2 separate regions of the Homo sapiens genome follow, and region 1 is linked to region 2. Evidence: promoter capture Hi-C in 16 types of primary human blood cells and fetal thymus (Javierre and others, 2016). All regions are on one chromosome and are shown on one strand. Each heading gives the region's core, a stretch centred on a gene start or on the middle of the fragment in contact. The rest is flanking DNA. Distances are from core to core; before and after follow the strand shown. Region 1 holds the start of KRTAP13-3 (keratin associated protein 13-3). Region 2 holds the start of KRTAP23-1 (keratin associated protein 23-1).

Region 1 (5,185 bases), core at 37-2,536, 77 kb after region 2:
TACTATCAGTAACTTACTTTTTATAACGCTTTGATGTGAGAGAACAGAACAGTATAAATACAGCCTATCCAATTTTATTTCAAGATACAACCCAAACAATCATTTTTGATGATTCTGATGAAAGGTTATCATCAAAAATGATAGCAAAGGCTATCTTAACTATCCTGACGAGGATACTTAAGAGAAAGGCTATCCTTGGAAACTGTGAGAATCCCAGAAACTCCTGCTTAAAGAGGAGGAAAATATCTAAAGCCCAACCAAAATTAGTGTGGAGATCCCACAATCTGGGCATTGCAAAGCCCATTACCAGAAGCAATGACAATGCACATCCTAGACAATGCTTTACTAATAAATAGCAATATTAACAGCACATTTGGACAGAAGAATAAAGAGTTTATTAAAATAAAATCTTTTTCACTTCCTATCTCTTTTGGAAAGAAATACAAAAACTATAAATTATATCTATAATGCAGTTTGGATCACTCATTGATCCAATGGCTTCAGATATCTGAATTATAAAATCCATGCCTTCCCTTCCCAGAGTTATAGATCCAGATTGATCCAGTTATAGATTATTCATTGATCCAAACTGCAGTTTGACAGAACTAACATACAACCCAGTTTTTGAGGGCTGGAAAGTAAGGAAGACCTGGTGATCAATAATATTAGAATACTTCTCAAAGGAAGAAATTAACAGATGACCTTACTAAAGAATATGCATTTCTCAAATGAGTTTTACCAGTCACCACATTAGTCAGTAGAAACCAGATCTACAGAATGGCTGATAACAAGATGAATGGAACCACCTTCTAGGTGGAAAATAGATTGGATGGCAGAATCTGGATCTATAACTCTGGGAAGGGGAGGTATGGATTCTATAATTCAGATATCTGAAGCCATTGGATCCACAGCCCAGTGAGGAGCAGCTCCTGGATCCACAGCTCAGGGAGCAGCAGCTATTGGATCCAAAACCCCGAGACCCAACATGCATAGTCAGGCAAGAATTGCAGAGCATGTGAGTCCTGGGGTAGTAGCAGGAGGTGTGGCAGGGGCTGGACTCAACACACAATGTCTGACAGCTGTTGGGCCTCCAGCAGGTCTCCTGACAGCCCCTATAGAGAGAGGAACCCAGCTGGCAGGTGCTGGGAGAGCAGAGGTCAGTGCTGTAGACCAGGTTGCTGGGGTAGGAAGAGCCACAGGAGGAGCCTGGGTAGTGCAAGTAACCCCCGTGGGAGCAGGAGGAGAAGTTTCTAGAGCAACAGTTGTAGGACATGTTGACGGGAAGATGTGAGTTCAGCTGAGTGTACCTGGGAAGATTCTGAGTTTTAACGTGGCATCCTGGACAGTGTCATTTATATCCTCTCAGCAATAGGTGTGGTGCACAGCAGAGTCATCCCTCACATTTTTGTGCTCCCTCATTTACATATGTGTAGCTCAGCAATCTTGCCTGTAATTGCATTTGAATACTTTTCCACATGTTGTATTTATGCGTGCTATAATTTTGGTGTTATAGCACAAAGCCAATGAACTGCACTTATGCCAGAAATGCTATGACTGTTTCGTATTAATATTTATTTTATTATGTCTAGGAAAGCACCTCCTTTTCCTCCTAGCATAATTTTCATGTGTCTTGTTATTGGCTGTTATGGGCAATAATTTTCCCTAAACAGTGAGAAATGAGATAAAGTTACATGTCTTTTTTGTCAATGGATTAGAGACACAACTTTGGCCTTAATGAGAAACCTGCTGAAAACTAAACCTACATGTCACCATCCTTTCTCATTCCACAAAAGTTTCCTTCATCTATTATGTACTGTTACTCACTGTGTCTCACATCCAGTGTAGAGGGAAAAGTATGAGCCAAGACAAATTGAATAACATTGATGCCTATGACCAGAAGGAAACCTGGACAATTATTTGGAGACATGGTGACAGCAAGGGATGGAACTGAGACAATCACAAATGAAAAACAATTCTGGGGCCTTATGAAGAGAATTAAAGTGTTAAATAAACACACACCATTGAAATGACAGAAAAAAATAAATGAATTTTAGATTCAATGCATCTAATATGAGGCCCATGGTCCTAAGAGATTCTCATTCATATGTGTGGCAGCCTGGAGAATTCTCATCTCGGATCTTAAATTACAGGAGGCTTAAATAACCAGTGGTCCTACCTGCTGTGTTCTAAAAGTTAACACTGCATTTTTGGGGAAGGCTTGCTTTCTCTGGGCTGCTCCCAAGCAAAGACTGAGCACAGTGGGATATAGGAATTCCTGGAAGACAATTGACGGCCAGCTTTGACTCAGGGTTTCCTCAACGGCCTTAAAGAACTACTGTCTCCTGCATAGGTCTCAAGCACTTCTTTCTCTTTCTCCTTCACTTGGGCCAGACCTATGTCCAAATCTTACAACTCTCCCAGCCTCTCTCAGGGGAGACTCTGGAAAGAGAAAAAATGCAGAAAATCTGTAAATATTTAATCTTGTTTATACTTTTTAAAAAGTGATACTGTTTGGATTTGTGTCCCTGCCCAAATCTCAGGCCAAATTGTAATCCCCAGTGTTGGGGAAGGCCTGGTGGGAGATGATTGGATCATGGGGGTGGATTTCCCCCTTGCTGTTCTCGTGCTAGTGAGTTAGCTCTCATGAGATCTGGTTGTTTAAAAATGTGTAGCACTTCCCCCTTCACTCTTTCTACTGCTTCCCTTGTAGGACTGCCTGCTTCTCCTTCATTTTCTGCCATGATTGTAAGTTCCCTGAAGCCTCCCCAGCCGTGCTTCGTGTACAGCCTGCAGAACTGTGAGTCAATTAAACCTCTTCTCTTTATAAATTACCCAGTCACAGGTAGTAGTTTATAGCAGTGTGAGAATAGACTAATACAAAAAGTAAACCAATTTTTTGAAGGATAGCAAAAAATTTAAACTGAACATTTTATCTTGAGTATGCCAATCAGGGTAAACAAAAAAAAAATTATTTCAGTTGTTCAATGATTTAGAGAAACAATAAACAAACTTTTGAGTTTAGTTTTGGAGCTTATGTTCAGACTGTCTCCAGGTAATATCTGCTAAAACTCATTTTTTCAGCCATCTCCACCTTAGTTAGACTAGATCTACACCATTCTCCTATTATTTCACGTGTGAGTTGATGTCTTTTATCAAGATTGGTAAATTCCCAACTGTACTCTCTTCAAATATTGCTTCTGCCCCATCCTCTCATCTTTCTTTTGCTTAGATTCCAATTATAAGCAAGGTACACTTTTTAACTACATTACATATGGCTTATACTCTTTTTTCTATTTTCAATCTTTATATAGAAGTATTGGCTTTTGCTTATTGAGGTTGTAACCTGGATGGTTAGTGAAAGCAAGATTTTCCAGCATGTTAGTGACAAGTTGCCTGGTTATTTTGAAAAGAGAAGCAGGTAGGTGCCAAACGTTGTAATTTTCAACTATGGATGAGATTCTGTTGAAAACATATCTCAAATATCCAAAGCCATTATTCATAGCCCAGTGAAGAGAATCATCTGTCAAAAGATCAGAAGCCTTTTGATGTATATCCCTGAGCCATATATTTTATGTGAAAGATCTCAATTTTTAATTGTTGATAAATAATTCAGTCAAAAAAAGAAACAACAATGATGAGGCTCCATATTAAACAGAACAAATAATATGATCTCCAAGATGAAGTGAGTCCAAAGTTGTGGCATTTACAAGTTCTTCTTAAACTTCTATCAAATTAATGTGGACAAAGTTTTAGAGATTTAGAGGCAGAGAGAAGGGAAGAACACCTCTTTTCACAATAACTGGTTCAGAGAAGGATTTTTGAATAAGGAGCCTGGATTAACTGAAGACAAATTCACTAAATCCCTTAGTTTTGCCTGAATAAATTCATGCTCTCCATTTAACTCATAAGTTTTGTATTCAAGATTATTTTAAAGAGTTACATTTGAAACAAAAGAAAATGGGGAAGGAATAGTTTCCAAACCTACTTACTAAGGTACAAGGTTAGGGGAAATCAACTGCCATTGAAAAATAGAAAGTAACTCACTGAATAGATATTTGAATTGGCCATATTTGCTTCTTTCTTCATTCTTCCTTCTGGAAGGCCTATATTAAGTTACTTTTCAATATTGCCATACATTTTAATTGAGAAAATTTAATCGAGAAAATGTCTAACATTATTGTTGTAAGTTTATTATATTTTATTATAAAATAAAATGTCATCAACCATGACAGTACACTTTCTTTGGTCCTGAATATAATTTAACTACTTGTATTTCAACATAGAATATTTTGTGAATGAACTTACAAAGTGGCTATCCTCAAAGAATACGACAAAGCTGTCCAATTTTTATTTTTCAACATGGAATCTATAATTCAGCAGAGGCAAACAAACACATGAACAAAACATAAAATATAACAAGTAAAAAAAAGAAAAAAGATAAAATCAAACTTAAGCACAGAAAAAAGAAAGAAAAATAGAGGGAAAGAAAGTCAGAGGAAGAGAGAGAGAAAATAAGAGAGAAACATTCATATACCATGCAGAGGAAAAGAGGACTGGGGAACAAAGAAACTTCACATTTTCACAGGAAAATGTAGGATGGTACCTGGTTCTACAAGTGGCAAAAAGACACTGAAAGCCAGTAATATGGAAAGCTAGAGCCATTCTAAGAAGGTAGAAGTCCTGTATAATTACAAAAGTAGATGATAAATATATCAAAGTTCATAAGATTTGCTAATTTTGAAAATTTTTGCTCATAAAGACATTGAGACAAGACACATGACAGCTGGAATGCAATAGGAAAAAAAATTCTGAAATTCCTGAGCTTTCTCTTTGTTTCTCTTTCACTTGTTTCCTCCCTTCAGCAGACAAGCATTCGGGCTCTTTGGCTGAAGAGACATGACCTCAAATTGATCTTCTCTGTGACTGTGTTTCAATCGAGCTTCTTTTTGTTATCTCGTCTTTAAATAAATGGCAAGGTTTCTTTCAATTTCTAGCCATTTCTTTCTATCTCTTTGCTTTGCCTGTTCTTGATCTTTCTTCACTGGATATGAGACAGACTTTATAACTGTAGTACTTAATGTATTAATTTACTCTTACCGCCCTAAAAAATCACCACAAAGTAATTTTGGAGTATAGCAATCAATGGTGACAAGATGGATCATTTTCACAAAGGTTCTCATCCAGG
Region 2 (4,751 bases), core at 916-3,415:
AGCATTCCACATATAACAAAGTCCAGAGGTAGAGAGAATCGTTTTAAGAAATCCCAGAGACACTTTGGGAGGCCGAGGTGGGCAGATTGCGAGGTCAGGAGATCGAGACCATCCTGGCTAACACGGTGAAACCCCGTCTCTACTAAAAATACAAAAAATGAGCCAGGCATGGTGGCAGGCGCCTGTAGTCCCAGCTACTCGTGAGGCTGAGGCAGGAGAATGGCGTGAACCCAGAAGGCGGGGCTTGCAGTGAGCCGAGATTGCGCCACTGCACTCTAGTCTGGGTGACAGAGCAAGACTCCATCTCAGAAAAAAAAAAAAAAAAAGAAAGAAACCCCAGAGAAGGAACTTTACCAGAAGCATTGTTCCACATGGCTCCTTGTTTCTCATTGGCTTACCTCAGATCACATGCTCATTCCTGAGCCAATCACTTTCAGTAGGCATTGGGGCGCTCTAGAGTAGCCAAATTCAATCCTTAAGCCTAAGGCATAATCACGTTCATTTGCAGGACTATGTGTGGACGAGGAGGGATGCACAAACAAAATCCAATTTCCATAGAAAGAAGAGCGAGAAGGAAAACAGCTGTGAGAGCAGTGAACGATGAGCTACCCACCTCCATTTAGATATTTGAAAATGTATATGACTGTGTTCCACTTAATGTAAGAATATAATGGACTGTCTAGTTTTGCATCCAGATACAAGCCCAGGATATCAAGAGGTAAAGTCTTATCTCTCAGTCCGTGTCACCTATGCATGATACTGCCAGGTTTCAGACAGTTTTCAGGTGACTTCTATTATAACACCGGATGGCTTTATAGTGACCTAATGAAAGGAGGAGGGAGTGAACCATCAAATTAAAAAAAAAAAAACTCTTAGATATTATATTCTTCTTATTATAGTGGAATGCATACATCTTTAATTTCATGTATACCTAAACTATTTGTTTCATTACACTTGCTACTGAACTCAGTTAAAATCCTGACCTCAGAATTTCATTGTGGCTTATATATGTCTGGGAAGGAAGATTACAGGAAGGATTTTGATAATGTTCTCATAAAAACAGCCAGGCTAGTACTTGCTAAAACATCACTGCTGTCTCTGGATATTTTCTTCCTAGACTAGACCCATGAGTAGCTTAACCAAAGTGAAGTGTCCTGATTAGGCCTAAATGGCCATGAATAGAAAAACAGAGATAATCTCCTGTCCTATCTCTGAGTCTACTTGGCAGAAATTCCCAGGAACTAGATCTCTGTTGTTAGAAAACTCTGCCTATCAAGGAACCTACTCCTTTCCCTCAAAGTGAATATTTTATTTTTAGACAAAAAGTGGGGGTTTCAAATTCCCGACAGACATCTTATAAAGAAAATTAACACAAGATTTGTGATCTGATATCAGATTAAATGAGTTTATTTGAAGAAAAAGAAATCAACTCTTGCTCCATTTTTAACTAGAGAAGGAAGGGAAAATACAAGAAAACAGAAGAAAAAGAGATGAGTATTCTATGAGAAATGTTATTTTAATATTAATAAGTTTAAAACAATTATCTTTTCTGGATAGTAGAATATAGGTTCTAGCCAGATGATAGCTGAGATGGACTTTGAGAGAAATAATTGTAATGTGGAGGTTTGGAGCCCTTAGCAAGTTGATCGGTAGAAGCCAGATCCACAAGTTGGTCTGTAACAGGAAGACTGGAATGTCCTAAAGAGAACATATGTTGGGTGGCAGAATCCAGATCCATAGCCCAGGGAAGGGAAGCCACAGCCTCCATAACCCAGGGATCTGACGCCACTGGACCCACGGCCCACTGAGTAGCAGCTCCTAGATCCATAGCCCAGGGAGCGGCAGCTGCTGGATCCAAAGCCTAGAGACTCAGAGTAAGTCGACTGGCAGGGACTGCAGAGCACGGAGCTTCTGGGGCGGTAGCAGGAGGTCTGGCAGGGGCTGGACTCCACACAGGACATCTGGCAGCTAGGGGTTTCCCAGCAAGTCTCCTGAAAGCCCTTGCAGAGAGAGGAACCCAGCTGGCAGGTGCTGGGAGATCAAAGGTTCAGTGCTGTAGACCAGGTTGCTGGGGTACGAGGAGCCACCACGGGAGTAGCCTGAGTAGCACAGGTAGCCCTCACAGGAATGGGAGGAGAAGTTTCCACAGCAGCAGTTGTAGGACATGTTGACAGGAGATGTGAGTTCAGCTGAGCTGCATTGAGAAGATGCCCTGATGTCCCTGCCTGTGCCCAATGATCCAGTGATGTTTACACCCTCACACTGCTGGGCGTGATGCAGTATCCGGGAACCCCCCCATTCTTGTGAATGTGTTTTCATCAAATGACTAAGTAACCTAGGTTATAATTATAACTCAACACATTCATTTGTCTTTAACAGCAGTGTAATCATTCCAGTTTATAGAAGCCCATTGGCTTCTCTCTCTCTCTCTCTCTGTCTCTTTCTCTCTCTCTCTCTCTCTCTCTCTCTCTGCAGAAATAAGGTTTGGTTTGCTTTCAGAAACATTGGTGATGATACATACAGTGCCTCCCCACCCCTTTTACTGAGCTTGACTGTGGGTATTCTGAGCTTCAGCCTACAAATTCTTACCAGCAATGTACTCCCAACAGTAATCAGCAGCCACCCACCCCCCATTATTTACATATGTTTTATTAAGCATTAACTACATGCGCAACATTTAAAAGTGTGGTATGATTTAATCTTTGCAAATATCTTATGAGATACAAGTTGTCATAAACAATTTAGAAGTAAGGCCATGGAGGTTTGGAAAAGTTATGTAACATTCAGGTAATAAATCAAACAAATCATGGACCCCATGTCATCCCAGGTGTGTCTGTCTTTAAGGCTAGCACAAACCACAGAGCTATATAGACAATTTGTGAAGCTTGTAATTTCTGCTCCCAGAATCACATGGACAATTGAGTATGCAGGTGAAAAAAAAATTCCAAGGTGTTAATATTTGCATTTCATCTGATATATCTACTTGAGTATTCTTACCCCTTTTATGAATTCCCCAAATATAGCCAACTGAGGGGACAGCTTCTTAATTGATTTTGGTTATTTTTTTAGTATTCAGAGTTACTATGGAGATGCTTTGTTACAAATTATCTTCTATTTGCCCTCTCACTCAGTTTATCCTAGTTAAGCAACTCATGTTTTATCCACCATGGAGTTATTAGATTCTTTTTCAGTGTGAGGCAGAAAATTCTTTGGCAAACACAGACTTTCACTGGGACTAGTTGCGAAAAACTGATATGCCTTTAGTGAGTTGACTACCAATAAAATACATTTGCAGAAGCTTGAATTTTAATAGGGTGCCGACCTTTTGCCAACTCAGTTGGGAGTGAGAAATACGACACCTTCCAGAGTGATTCATTTCACTCCTTGCTGAGCTTCTCTTGTTCATCCTTCTAGGAAGACAAAGCAGCATAAAATTTACCATTATATTAAGTGGTTAAAATTATCTTTACCACTATAAAACATCAGTGGTATAAAGAAAAATCTTGGAATTAGAAATGTCTTTTTCCCCACTTGTTATCATATCCAACTTCTGCCTTCAAGCATCTTTTAGAAATTGGAAAGCAAAAAGCTATTTATGTAATTTGATCTTTTCAAACTGTTTCATAGATGATTGTTTTTTGTAATCTCCTGTAATATTTGCTTATCTGGCAACAATGGAATATTTTGTCCATTGTTTTGCTAACAAATTTCTACCAAATGCATTGCTCACATTGCACCAAATCCCTTTGTGAAAGATGTACCAAAATGGAGTCATTTATGTCAAACTCTAACAAAATGGGGTCAAGAGAGGCCACAAAAAAAATCCTCGTGCACACATGCCTGTAACAAGGGTTATCACAAGACCTTCTTCAAATTGCACTATTCCAGATAAATAGGTTCCAGGACAGTTACCTAGCAACAGCTGTCTTTACCAATAAACAAATGTCAACTCCTACAATGAGCTTTTGACCCGTGAACTTGTCTCAAAGCAGCTTACCTGGACCTCTCTTTGTATTTAAAAACTTCTCCTGTGCCCTAACCCCTTGGATGTGCCTATGATCCATCATCCACCATAGCATGCACATTCCTAGATTGCACTTCGCTGCTCTTTCCAATTAAAACTCATTTGTTCTGAAGAGCATATGTGAGTTTCTTTTTAGGTTGACACTTCTCATCCCTCAATGCCAAAATCAAACTCCTCCTATCAGATAGGTGTTCATCTCAACTAGACTTAGCTCTTCAGGAACAAAGATCTCAGTATTTTGTAATCTAGTTCACACACACACACACTGTGGAGGATTTGCAAGGGATGTACTTTGAAATGGCTCATGCAGGATGAATAATATTTCAGCTTGCAGGGAAATTACATATGTGAGAAGAACGAAGAACGCAATGCACAGAAGTTTTGTGGGGTGAGTGATGATGCTTAGTCTTCTTTGACCTAATTCCTGGCACATCATGGGTGCTCATAGATTATTTATATCAAATAATTAACTTTTATTTTACTTTCACTCAAGATAAATGTATGCATGTGAAAATAATGTTTCTGCTTTTAAAGTTACCTCTAATTAAAAGTGAAATGAATATTAAATCTATCTTTTATAATGAATATATCCCCAAGTTAATCATAACCAGTAAACCAAGGCCTGTTAAGATAGAGCACCTCTTAGAAGATGAACGGAGGATGGAAATTATGGTTTTAGTGCGTAGGGGAATATTCTGAACAATCTTTATAGTCCTTGTATGTGAAT

The links. The method cuts DNA at HindIII sites, captures the fragments that hold promoters and counts their contacts. A CHiCAGO score of 5 or more calls a contact.
Region 1: the fragment with the promoter of KRTAP13-3 here is called in contact with the fragment with the promoter of KRTAP23-1 in region 2 in 6 of 17 cell types (neutrophils, total B cells, M2 macrophages and 3 more); the score reaches 9.2 in neutrophils.

The regions. Positions count from the first base shown.
Region 1 is chr21:30,424,640-30,429,824 of GRCh38, forward strand. It overlaps KRTAP13-3 (keratin associated protein 13-3), which reads right to left and starts at 1,287. Exons shown (of 1, transcript NM_181622.2): 1 at 741-1,287. The coding sequence starts at 1,273. The coding sequence ends at 755. The region is part of intron 3 of LOC105372772 (a long non-coding RNA gene); the gene reads right to left. The HindIII fragment of the contact is 9,043 bases long and covers 1-5,185 here.
Region 2 is chr21:30,346,441-30,351,191 of GRCh38, forward strand. It overlaps KRTAP23-1 (keratin associated protein 23-1), which reads right to left and starts at 2,166. Exons shown (of 1, transcript NM_181624.1): 1 at 1,959-2,166. The coding sequence starts at 2,166. The coding sequence ends at 1,969. The HindIII fragment of the contact is 4,066 bases long and covers 1-2,882 here.